Linked DNA regions of Homo sapiens: region 2 is linked to region 1. The links are contacts of gene promoters, found by promoter capture Hi-C in blood cells and fetal thymus (Javierre and others, 2016). All regions are on one chromosome and are shown on one strand. The core of a region is centred on a gene start or on the middle of the fragment in contact, and the rest is flanking DNA. Distances in the headings are between cores, read along the strand shown.

Region 1 (5,757 bases), core at 1,965-4,464:
CTGGTCTTGAACTTCCAACCTCAGCTGATCAGCCCGCCTCAGCCTCCCAAAGTGCTGGGATTACAGGGGTGATCCACTGTGCCCAGCCAGACCTTCGATTCTTATTTGAATTCTTAAAGACATTTACCTTTTTTTTTTTTTTTTTTTTTGAGATACAGTCTCTGTCCCCCAGGCTGGAGTGCAGTGGTGTGATCTAGGCTCACTGCAACCTCTGCCTCCCAGGTTCAAGCAATTCTTGTGCCTCAGCCTCCTGAGCAGCAGGGATTACAGGCACGCTCCACCATGCCTGGCTAATTTTTGTATTTTTAGTAGAGACGGGGTTTCACTATGTTGGCCAGGCTGGTCTTGTGATCTCAGGTGATTTGCCCACCTTTGCATCCCAAAGTGCTGGGATTACAGGCTTCAGCCACCGCGCATAAAAATCTTACCATTCATCTTATCTCATTCCCATCAGGGATCTAAACCCTGCCCTTCATTACTTTGAAACCTCTCATATCTCTTTCTTCTCCATTTCTACCGCTATCATTAAGCTCAATTACAGGAGTTGCCTAAATGTTTTCTTTCCCTTCAATCCCTACCCTCAATCAGTGTGTACTAGTCACTACTGCTAAACTGACTTTTAAAACTTTCTTTCACCATTTTCCATTCACTCTGTAAGTTCTTCAATGGATATCTAATACTTACAATGTAAAATCTAAACTTCTCAGTTTTCAAGATTCTCCAAAATTCACAGTATCATTTAAAACAATCTTTTATTAAAGCAAAGTGCTCCATTCCTACAAGGATTAATTCTCAACATTCCTAGAACAAACTTAGTTTTCTTATTTCCCGAAGCCATCAAGGCTGATCATGTAATTCCTAAAGCAATCTCAGTTTTTAAGCAGAATTTATGTATGGAAAAAAGTCCCAATAAAGAGAAAATGAGTGTTATCATTAGAAAGAAATAAAAACAGAAAAATATCTTCTGATCACTAAAGGAAATTAAAGATTTCACATGACCAATACTGATAAATAACTAAAACATTCCACTGAAATCCAGTTTACAAACTGCTTTCACTTTCAGAGATGAAAAAAGTGTGGATCACAGATTTCAAATGACTTGTCTAATGTCCCACATTTAACAAAAATGAAGAAGCAGAAGCTTCTATGGACTCGAAATCCCATGTCTACACCTTGGCTTTCCTGAACTATCTAACTACAGAGGAAACAGACAAATATATTCATTGGAAAAGCATTAAAATACCTGGATGTCAAATATCTATTCAAAGAGTGAACACAGGGATTAAAATCCTGGTGCTTAAAATCCTTCAGTTGTTCCCTATAGCATTTAAATTCAAAACTACTTAGACAAAGCCTTTGTAAATCTGACTCCTAATCCAATCTACCAAATCATTCTGCCAATTTCCAATTACACCAAAGTATTTAAAAATGTTATTCTAATGATAACTTGCAGAGGATCTGCCATCATTATTACATTTAAGTAGAAGGGTGGCAAACAAAAAGATACCAAGGATAAACATGTGTGTTACCAATCTTTCAGGCTACATTAAGTTAAAAGCTGTTTACGAAACAGAGTTTTGCATAAAAAAAGATATTACTGAAATAAATATTAAAATATAACTTCCAACATTCCTTTCACCTTTCCTAAGAAACTAACTAATTAGTTTATGCTCAGGAATCATACTGCCAGGACTTGAGTTCAGGCTCTACCAAGTTCCTAATAACCTCTCTGAATCTCATTTCACATTAACCTCTATGTCAGTAATATCTACCTTGTAGGATTATTGTGCAAATTAAATGACAGAAGGTGAAGCACTTATCACTATTCCTATAATACAACAAGAGCTCAAATATATTCCTCTAATAGTTAACTGTTCAATGAACATAGATTCGAGTGGAAATCTTAATTTTTGGCTTATCCTCAAATACTTTTGTCTCTGACAATCTGCTGATGAGGTTAAAAATGTTCATTCACCATGAAGAATACCAATTACTCATTTGCATTCTGAGGACATCCAGGAAGTCAGGTGGATGCAAGAACTTGATGTGATCTGATCTTCCCTTGTGTACAGAGGTTGTCTTTAGGCACCTTGCTCAATGTCTAGCTCACAGTAGATGATCAATATTTTGAGGGAATACTGGAATGAATGAAAATGTCTGCCCAAATAGCCTCAAAGTTTATCATAGGACTGAATCACTGACATCGCTCTTCCAATAGCAACCGTTCTGACCTATGGATGCCCTAAATTCTAATTTCAACTTCCACCATGGGGCCATATTCGAAGAACTCATATAAAAGTGAGGCGACAATGGATGGATGCTCAGTTGAGGGTACATGGTGCTTATGGCAGTCCCAAAGCTGTATTTAAAAGGGCACACCGCAGGACAATGCATCAATATATATGACATCAAGAATAAAAATGAGAATCCCTTCTGCCTTTCATCTTTTAAAAACTGTCCTTGATGTTACATCAATTTTAACATTGTAACTCACCTGTTTTTTCAGTTATATCTGAATCAGGAGTGTTTGCCCTGCTAACTTCCCCTTCAGCATTCTCCTCTTCAGCACTAAGAGAAATTGGTGAAGAAGGGCCAGGCTGGGAAGGTTGAGGGGTTGCTTCGGGCGCTTCCTCAATCTTATTCCTTTTCTCAAAGCGAAAACGGTCCAGGTTGAAAAGATTCATATTGGTAGAAAGCACCACCTTGCAGGGATGGGGGCTTTAAATGAACTATCTGCAGGGGAAAAATAAAGAGAGGAAAAAAGGCCATGAAAACAATATACGATACAATGCCACAGCAGTTTATTCCCAAGGCAATAAAGGGCCCGCAAACATGCCAGTGGCTCAGGACTGTTATGGCTGCGCTTCATTGTTAGGCCGCAACAATTAGAAGGTGGACGGGGGTATCTTTTAAAATTTTCCATTGCTTTTCACTCCCCTTCGTCCGCCTCCCCCGCCCGCCCCTCCTTACTGAAACCACGAGCTGACCCTCATGCAACCTCCTCTTACCCAAGCACGCGCAGGCACGTTCCCCAGTATAACCCCCTAGCGGGCCTCGCGCCCGCCCACAAAGAGAAGCTCCCTGTGCTACCGTGCCCCCTGCCTCGAGAAAGGACCTGCCAGGGCCCGCGCCTCGACACTGCGGGGACACAAAGGGGCCAAAGAAGGGGAGCGGCGGAGGCCGTGCTGGCGGGCATCCGCCCGGAAGTTGACGCGGCGCGATCCCAGCTGAGAGGAAGCTGATAGGATTAAGAACACACAGGAAGGTTCAGAGGTGGAGTGCATGCTAAGGCATCTTTTTAACGTTCAATCGCTCGCTTGTTCTTTCTTCCCTCAGTACTTACGATCTTGTAGCCTCAGTGCTATGTAACAAAGGTTGAAAATAAAAAAAAAATTTCCTAGCGTGGGGCGACGGTAGCCGTGCCGGGACCTTCCAAAACACCACGGAGAAACCTTAAGAGCGCGTAATGATGACGCAACACGCAGCCTAGGCTTTTTCTTCCCAAACAACGCGCGAGCCGACAATGTCGAGGCGCGCGCTGTTGTCATGGTAATTCGTACCCGTCTCCGCCGGCTTGTAAGGGCCAGATTGTTCTGTACCTTTGTCCTGTTAAATTATCTAGAGAGTTATTAAATAGAACAATAGTAAATAGCATAATGACAAAAAATAACAATATATAATACAATTAGTATATATTGTATGTATTATAATCTGTAGTGTTTCACCTATAATATAATGTAGATAGCATAATAGTAATAATACTGTGCTAAGCTTTTTCAGTGTATAATCCCAATCCTTACAAGAAGCCTATGTTTACAAAGCAAAGAAACTGAGACCTGCAAATGTATAGGTAATTAGTGACGGATAAGAACCCCGGGATGCTGAGCTTCAAAGCATTTAAAGTAATTCCTCACTTTCGGCTTGATTGTTCTTAGAATGGAATTTGATTAATTAATTAATTTTTTAAAAATATTTTAATTTTTAATGTTTGCGGGTACATAGTAGGTGTACATATTTATAGGGTACATGAGATATTTTGATACAGGCATGCAATGTGTAATAATCATATCAGGGTAAGTGGGGTATCCATAACAAGCATTTATCCTTTGTGTTTCAAACAATCCAGTTATTTTAGTCATTTAAAAATGTACAATAAGCTGGGAGTGGTGGCTCACGCCTGTAATCCCAGCACTTTGGGGGGCTGAGGCAGGTGAATCACAAGGTCAGGAGTTTGAGACCAGCCTAGCCAACATGGTGAAACTCCGTCTCTGCTAAATATACAAAAAATTAGCCGGGCGTAGTGGCGGGCGCCTGTAATCTCAGCTAATCGGGAGGCTGAGGCAGGAGAATAGCTTGAACCTGGGATGCGGAGGTTGCAGTTAGCCGAGATCACTCCACTGCACTCCACCCTGGGCAACAAAGCAAGACTCTTGTCTCAAAAAAAAAAGTACAATAAATTGTTGTTGACTGTAGTCATGCTATTGTGCTATCAAATACTAGATCTTATTCATTCAAACTGTATTTTCGTACCCATTAACCATGCTCACCGACCACCGGGGTCCTCCCCCGCCCCACACTACCCTTCCCAGCCTCTGGTAGCCATCGTTCTACCGTTTCTCATACGTTCAATTGTTTTAATTTTTTAGCTCCCACAAATATAATAAATGAGAACATACCAAGTTTTTTTTCTGTGCCTGCCTTATTTCCTTTAATATAATGACCTCCAGTTCCATCCATGTTGCAAATGACAGGATCTCATTTTTTTTAATGGCGAAATAATACTCCACTGTGTATATGCACCACATTTTTCTTATTCATTCACCTGTTAATGGACACTTAAGTTGCTTCCAAATCTTGGCTGTTGTGAATAGTGCTGCAACAAACATGAGAATGCAGATATCATTTCGATACACTGATTTCCTTTCTTTTGCATATAATTCACCTATCTTGATGGAAATGTTAGCTTAAGAATATATACTCCTGGCCGGGCGCAGTGGCTCACGCCTGTAATCCCAGCACTTTGGGAGGTGGAGGCGGGCGGATCATGAGGTCAGGAGATCGAGACCATCCTGGCCAACACGGTGAAACCCCGTCTCAACTAAAAATACAAAAAATTAGCCGGGCGTGGTGGCGGGCGCCTGTAGTCCTACCTACTCGGGAGGCTGAGGCAGGAGAATGGCATGAACCAGGGAGGCGGAGCTTGCAGTGAGCCGAGATCACGCCATTGCACTCCAGCCTGGGCAACTCCATCTCAAAAAAACAAAGAATATATACTCCTGGGCTAGGAGCAGTGGCTCACGTCTGTTATCCCAGCACTTTGGGAGGCCAAGGCAGAGCTGGGGCAACATAGTGAGACCCCATCTCTAAAAAAAATACAAAGTTATCCAGGCATGATGGCACACGTCTGTAGTCCCAGCTACTTTGGGGGCTGAGGCAGGAGGATCACTTGAGCCTGGGAGGTCGAGGCTGCAGTGAGCCATGTTTGCACCACTGCACTCTGGCCTGGGTGACAGAGCAAGACCCTGTCTCAAAAAAACAAAAAACTAAGATATACTCCCTTTGTTCCAACATTAGACAAGCAATTTTCTGAGTTATAATTTGAGCTTCTGGTTGGCATTTCCCATAAAGAGGAATTGCTACAAATGATCATTCTGCCAGATATATTAGCCATTGTAAACTTAAATTGCCAGTTTGTTTTATAAGTCAGTGTTGTGAATTGTATATTTACAACACATACCCACAGTTTTATCAAATGTG
Region 2 (5,757 bases), core at 2,264-4,763, about 34 Mb before region 1:
GTCATGGGACAATAGATAATTAAAATATTTCATCACTGTTGGCAGGAAGAAACAGCGCAGGATAAATGTCCACAGGCTCTTAAAGCTTTTATTTGGAAATGACACAAGTCACTTCCAATCACATTTCATTGGCCATTCTTGAGGTAAAAGGAGTAGGGAAATCCAAATCTACGTGTGTGGAAAAAGAAATAGAAATATTTGGTGGCTAGTACTAATATCTTCCAGAGATTTACAAGTAAATCAGTAAATAGATGAAGTGTCAGGGGAAAAAAGCTAACAACAGGAGAAAAGAATGTACATGACGATTCTTGTAGATGTCCTCTAGGCAAAGCAGGGATGTAAGAGGAAAAGGAGGGTAGAAAGAAGTCAAAAATAAAAAAAATAAAAAAGCATCCGCAGGGAAAAAGTAGAAATCTTGGGATCTAAAGGACAGTTTCAATAACAGAATAGTCAAGAAGAGCATAAAATAAAAGGCCAAAATGGGTGGTACAGGTAAGGAACACACAGAAATTCAAAGAAGGTAGGTTAATGTGGGCTGATAGAGGCCTCAGGTGGAAGTAGAATTGAAAGAATGGATAGGTCATGGAATTTGTATGGTTAGAAATAAGAAGGGCATGCTCCGTGAGGAAACAGCATGAGTCAAGTCCTAGACTGTGCAATACACATAGCATATATGGGGCAAGGGACTAGGTATTGTAAGGGGAAACGTATCATTTAATAGAGGGTATCCAAGGGATTGTTTGCTGGGGAACGGGAAGGCAGGGAAGCCACTCAGGGACTTATGGAGGCCCTTGAGTGCTTTCTGAGTTGTCCTCTTCAAATTACAGAGCACCCCTGGAGATTGGTGTCTGAGCAAAGGAAATCAGAACACAGTTCTAGTCTCTTCGTGTAGGAATGAAATAGGAAAAGACTGACGGCAAGTCACCAATTGGAAAGTTATTGCAGTACTCAAAGCAAGAGTATCCTATTGGGACAAGAGCTTGTTACTTAGGGTGGAAAATAAGAACTTCCAACTAGTCCAGTTCAAGGGGCTTACAATGAGAATCAAAAAAGCTGGGGTTTTGGGAAGGCTTCAAGTGTGAAGAAGTCGAGACACTATTTTATCAAGGATATAAAGGAAAACTTTTTTACTTCACGTGGCAGCCAATGTTGGTTAGCTACCCAACATTCCCCAGCCCACTTCCTTGACAGCAGAACTTTAATACTGTCCAATTCCTCTCTTCCCTCCAAACCAACTGGAAAAGAAACCTACACACACTAATTCAGCCCCAAGGTAAATCCTGAGGGTCTAAGCTACTGGTTCTCAACCAGTACCACACCTCTGGGGGGTGGGAGGGAAAAACGGTTGATTTACGGTGTCACAATGCCTGAGGTGTGGTACTGACATTTAGCTGGAAGGAACCAGAGATGGTAAATGTCCAGCAATGCTCAACACAGTCCTGAATAAGAATTAAAAAAGCCAGATAAACACTAGGCAATCATGGATGTCCCATGCTCCTTGTCTGTTACTGCTTTAGGGACAGCTAATAGCCCAGTTCTGGTCAATAAGATATAAGGAGTGGCCTGCTTCTGGGGTGCTTTCTTCCTTCCTATCAATGTTGTCTCAACTGTATACAGCTCTTGGGACTGCTACAGCTATCTTCTCCTCAAAACCAGTTTCTTCTTTATCTTCCTATTTCCATCACTGGCACCTCCCATTTTCTGTTACCAAGTCCTAAAGCAATTTTGACTTCTCCTAACCCTTAACCTTAAGGTGACTATTCCTTTAGGTTTGCCTGGGATAAAACTGATATAACTCCTGGTCTCTGGCTATAATTATTAATGCCCTACTTTACTTCCAAAAGTGTTCCATATTGAAGGATAGAGTATATGGTCATTTACTACCAATTGTGTCGCTCTCCCTCAGGTACCTCTAATGCAGGGCTCAGCAATATGGCTTATAAGTTGTTTTTGCACCTCTCCAGAACTAAAAAAAAAAAAATTTACATATTTCAATGATTTTCTTAAAAATCAAAAGAATATTTCATACCTGAAATTATATTAAAAATTCAATGTCCATAGTTTTACTGAAGACAGCTACACTCATTCAAGTATTGTCTATGGCTGCTTTCTCGTTACAAGGTAGAGCTGAGTAGTTAAGGCAGAGACTTAAAATATGATCGGGCCCTTTACAAAAAATGTTTGCCAACCCCTGCTCTAATGTCTCCCCTAGCTCTGAGTCTCCTCACCTCACGCACAAATACCCTAGCCTACTAACTGCTTTCCCACTCTTTCCCCAGCCTCTAATCCTTCAGACACCTGGTTGCTATACAGCCTCTCTACAAGAGTGTCGACCCTGTCACTTGCCTCGTCAATATCCTCAGTGACTCCTACAAAACCGACAGTGAAAGGTTCAAACCTATTCTATGAGACTCAAGACAACAGACAACAAAGGGCAAGAGAGAACACGTCAAACGAGTTCGTCAAACGAGTTGAGTGCGTGAGACTTCAGAGGTCACTTTTTCACACTAGAATTTCAAGGTGTGAGAGGCTAAAAGACGTCCAAGTACATGAAACAGAACCTGCAAATAAGAGTGAATGACGAATAGAAAGACCACCTCAACCTGTCCACTTCCCTACGGCCGCAGAAGTTATGATTCAAGGAATAATGAGACTCTAAATCCTTTAAAATTCTACAAGAGCAGCCTTTGCCAAACCCAGCGGGGAGTGGCTGCTCGGTGCCAGCGCGAGGAGCACGTAGACTGCCGATGCCAGAGAAGCCCGGTGCGGGTTCCGTGCTTTCTCTCCGTTCCAGGAAGACCCCAGCTCGTGGCCAAATCTTCTTGCCGCTTCCCGGTCTGCGCGCCTACGCTGCCGGTTTCCCGACAAAAGCGACGGCGCCCTGGTGAAAAGCAGACGCCCCTCATCGGTTTGCGCCTTGCAGCTCAACTATGCCCCAGCCTCCCACAAGCCACCTGCCCGCGTCCTCCGCCAGGCGTCCAGCCCGGACCTGCCCCCGCGGCCGCCAAGGCGCACGTGAAGCTCCCGGGCGGGGGGAGCGCAAGGAGGCGGGAGTTTGCGGACGCGAACGCAGGCCTAGGAAGGGAAGCGATTCCAGGGCGCACGCGCAGAGCCTGGAGACTGGGCGGGGCGTGCCTCCCGCAGGGGTTACGAACGAAAGGCGAGCGCGTGGCGCTCAGGAGCCCGCGCACGCGCTGTGGTCTCGCCCCGCCCATGAGCGTCCGCGCGGCCGTCGTAGCATCTTTTCTTCAGACCCGCCCGGCTCGTCTACTTAACCTAGCGGAGGCTTGGAGTGAGAGCAGGGAAGTGTGGGGCGAGGTGGGCGGGGCGTTGCACGCGTGCGCGGCCAGCGAAAGAAGGGAGGGGGCGGGAGATCCGAGACAACGTTACCCCGTCAACACCCAATCAGGAGCCGGCCTGACCCCGCCCCCTCTTCTCACGTTATTGGCTGAGAGGCCCCCAGATGGGCGGGGCCGGCCGTGGGGTTGGGGAGGGCAGGGGGCGGGGAGGAGGAGGAAGGCGCTGGCGGGCAGTGATGGCGGCTGGTGATGGGGACGTGAAGCTAGGCACCCTGGGGAGTGGCAGCGAGAGCAGCAACGACGGCGGCAGCGAGAGTCCAGGCGACGCGGGAGCGGCAGCGGAAGGGGGAGGCTGGGCGGCGGCGGCGTTGGCGCTTCTGACGGGGGGCGGGGAAATGCTGCTGAACGTGGCGCTGGTGGCTCTGGTGCTGCTGGGGGCCTACCGGCTGTGGGTGCGCTGGGGGCGGCGGGGTCTGGGGGCCGGGGCCGGGGCGGGCGAGGAGAGCCCCGCCACCTCTCTGCCTCGCATGAAGAAGCGGGACTTCAGCTTGGAGCAGCTGCGCCAGTACGACGGCTCCCGCAACCCGCGCATCCTGCTCGCGGTCAATGGGAAAGTCTTCGACGTGACCAAAGGCAGCAAGTTCTACGGCCCGGGTGAGGAGTTGGAAGGGGAGGGGAAGGACCCCCTGCAGCTGAAGCACAACCCCCTTCGGACAGGGAGGCCTCTGGGCACCGGGTTAGTTTGCCCAGCCTTCTCGTCTCCGGGACCCCCGCGCCTCGGCCGCCGCACCTGGGACGGCCCATCCCGCCCCTACACACACACCGTCCCCCCGCAGCTACGGGCACCTCCAGTTCTTCCCCCGAAACCAGGGTCCCCGGTGGCGCCCCAGAGACCAGCTCTCAGCATTCATCTTTCTTCCATCCCATTTCTCCTCGCAGCCTTTTTTTTTTGTTTCTTTGGCTGGATTTTTCAAAATCGTTTTAGTTGTCACAGGTCAACGCTGGCCCTTAACCTTTTTTGAGTCTCCTGATTCCTGGGATGGATGGGGCACCAGGGAAGGGAGATTTCTGAAGTTGGGACCTAAACTAAAGTTTTGGGCTCTGTAATTCACCGTTTTCTTTTCCTTGCCCCCTTTTTTTTTTTTTTTGCCACTGATCTCCTTTTTTCCCTCGCTGTATTACTCCGTAAGGCCACGTTTAGGGGCATGTAAAGTCCCAACCCTCCAGTCTCTGAAGTCCAGACGTATAAGCAACACCTCGGACTCTCTTTAAACCAGTTTTAGTTCGGAGTTGCTTTCCATGATTAACAAGGTATGTGGGATGAGAACAGACCAGAATGCAGAGCTTATTAAAGACTGGTAAGGATATTCACCTTGAGTTTTGGGGGTGGAGCTCCTATACCCAGCAGGCGTGTCTCTGGTTTCTTTTTTCTTTTTTTTTCTCTTTTCAAGTACACGTTGATAATGACTTGTGTTTTCACTTAGCAGAACTAAGGAGAAAAAACTTAGAAGAGTTGTAGATTTATACCCCCATGTGCCAGTTATGCAAGTTAAAGATTTTTAGAACTTTGTTTTGAGAGAACTTTGTTTTCAGGGAACTTTGTGTAGGGTAGTTGATTTAGACGCCCTTTTTTTACAGTGTGGTTGTAGCATACATTTTGGATTATGTTAATAAACCCCAGACTCATGGAACCTGTTGGTATATCATACAGTTGAGCAACATTGTGCATCCTGGTTGTGCACTGATTAATACTAAGCTTTAAAAAAAAGTGGTGACTACAATAAGAATAAATAATTAAATTAGAGACCTAAAGTGACCTGTTATTGGAGAGAGTACCTCCAAGCCTTAAAGTCATAGGGTTGGCAGTCTGGAAGTAAGCTGGTTTTCTCCTTAATTTAATCTGTAGGTGTATAAGATTTATTGACACTTAAAAATATATACTTCTGATTTCAGTGCTTGATAGCTGGAAGATATTTTAGAAGTGCTTTGGTTTGTAGTTTGTTCATTGGAATAGGGATAAGAAATAGGAGATTTTTGGTGTTGAATTATGTAATTTATTTCTTAGTTGTTTGTACTTCTGTGTATATATACACATTTAATCCAACCAAGTAAATACATAGCTTACAGAGTTTTTGCTTCTGGTTACATAAATGTGAACACAAGGTGTCTGCCTACTTATATCAACTGAAATGGTTAATACATTTTTGTTTACTTAAGCACACGTGGGACAAGAGAACAGGGCCAAAGTACAGTATTTAAACAGGCCAAGCGAAGTAAATTTTTTTTAAATCAAGGATTTAGACAGCATTTTATACCTAGTTCAAGCTTTTCCCCCATTGGTATTAAAATGTGTTAAGTGATTAGAAATCCTGTACAGGTTTAAATTTTTAATATAGACCTTACCCAGCTAAAAGATCAGCTTTTGTACCCTGTCTGAACTGCCACTGAAGAAAACAAA

What was found. The method cuts DNA at HindIII sites, captures the fragments that hold promoters and counts their contacts. A CHiCAGO score of 5 or more calls a contact.
Region 2: a contact is called between the fragment with the promoter of PGRMC2 here and the fragment with the promoter of SMARCAD1 in region 1, in 4 of 17 cell types (total CD4 T cells, activated CD4 T cells, naive CD8 T cells and 1 more). The highest score is 9.2, in total CD4 T cells.

The regions. Positions count from the first base shown.
Region 1 is chr4:94,205,322-94,211,078 of GRCh38, reverse strand. SMARCAD1 (SNF2 related chromatin remodeling ATPase with DExD box 1) reads right to left here and starts at 3,214. Exons shown (of 24, transcript NM_020159.5): 1 at 3,009-3,214; 2 at 2,495-2,733. The coding sequence starts at 2,684. SMARCAD1-DT (SMARCAD1 divergent transcript) reads left to right here and starts at 3,523. Exons shown (of 9, transcript NR_125922.1): 1 at 3,523-3,549. RefSeq lists enhancers at 2,634-3,137, 3,236-3,595. The HindIII fragment of the contact is 2,630 bases long and covers 1,144-3,773 here.
Region 2 is chr4:128,285,569-128,291,325 of GRCh38, reverse strand. PGRMC2 (progesterone receptor membrane component 2) reads left to right here and starts at 3,513. Exons shown (of 3, transcript NM_006320.6): 1 at 3,513-3,953. The coding sequence starts at 3,536. RefSeq lists silencers at 2,218-2,512, 2,884-3,073, 3,394-3,573, 3,584-3,633, 3,814-3,873. The HindIII fragment of the contact is 4,970 bases long and covers 88-5,057 here.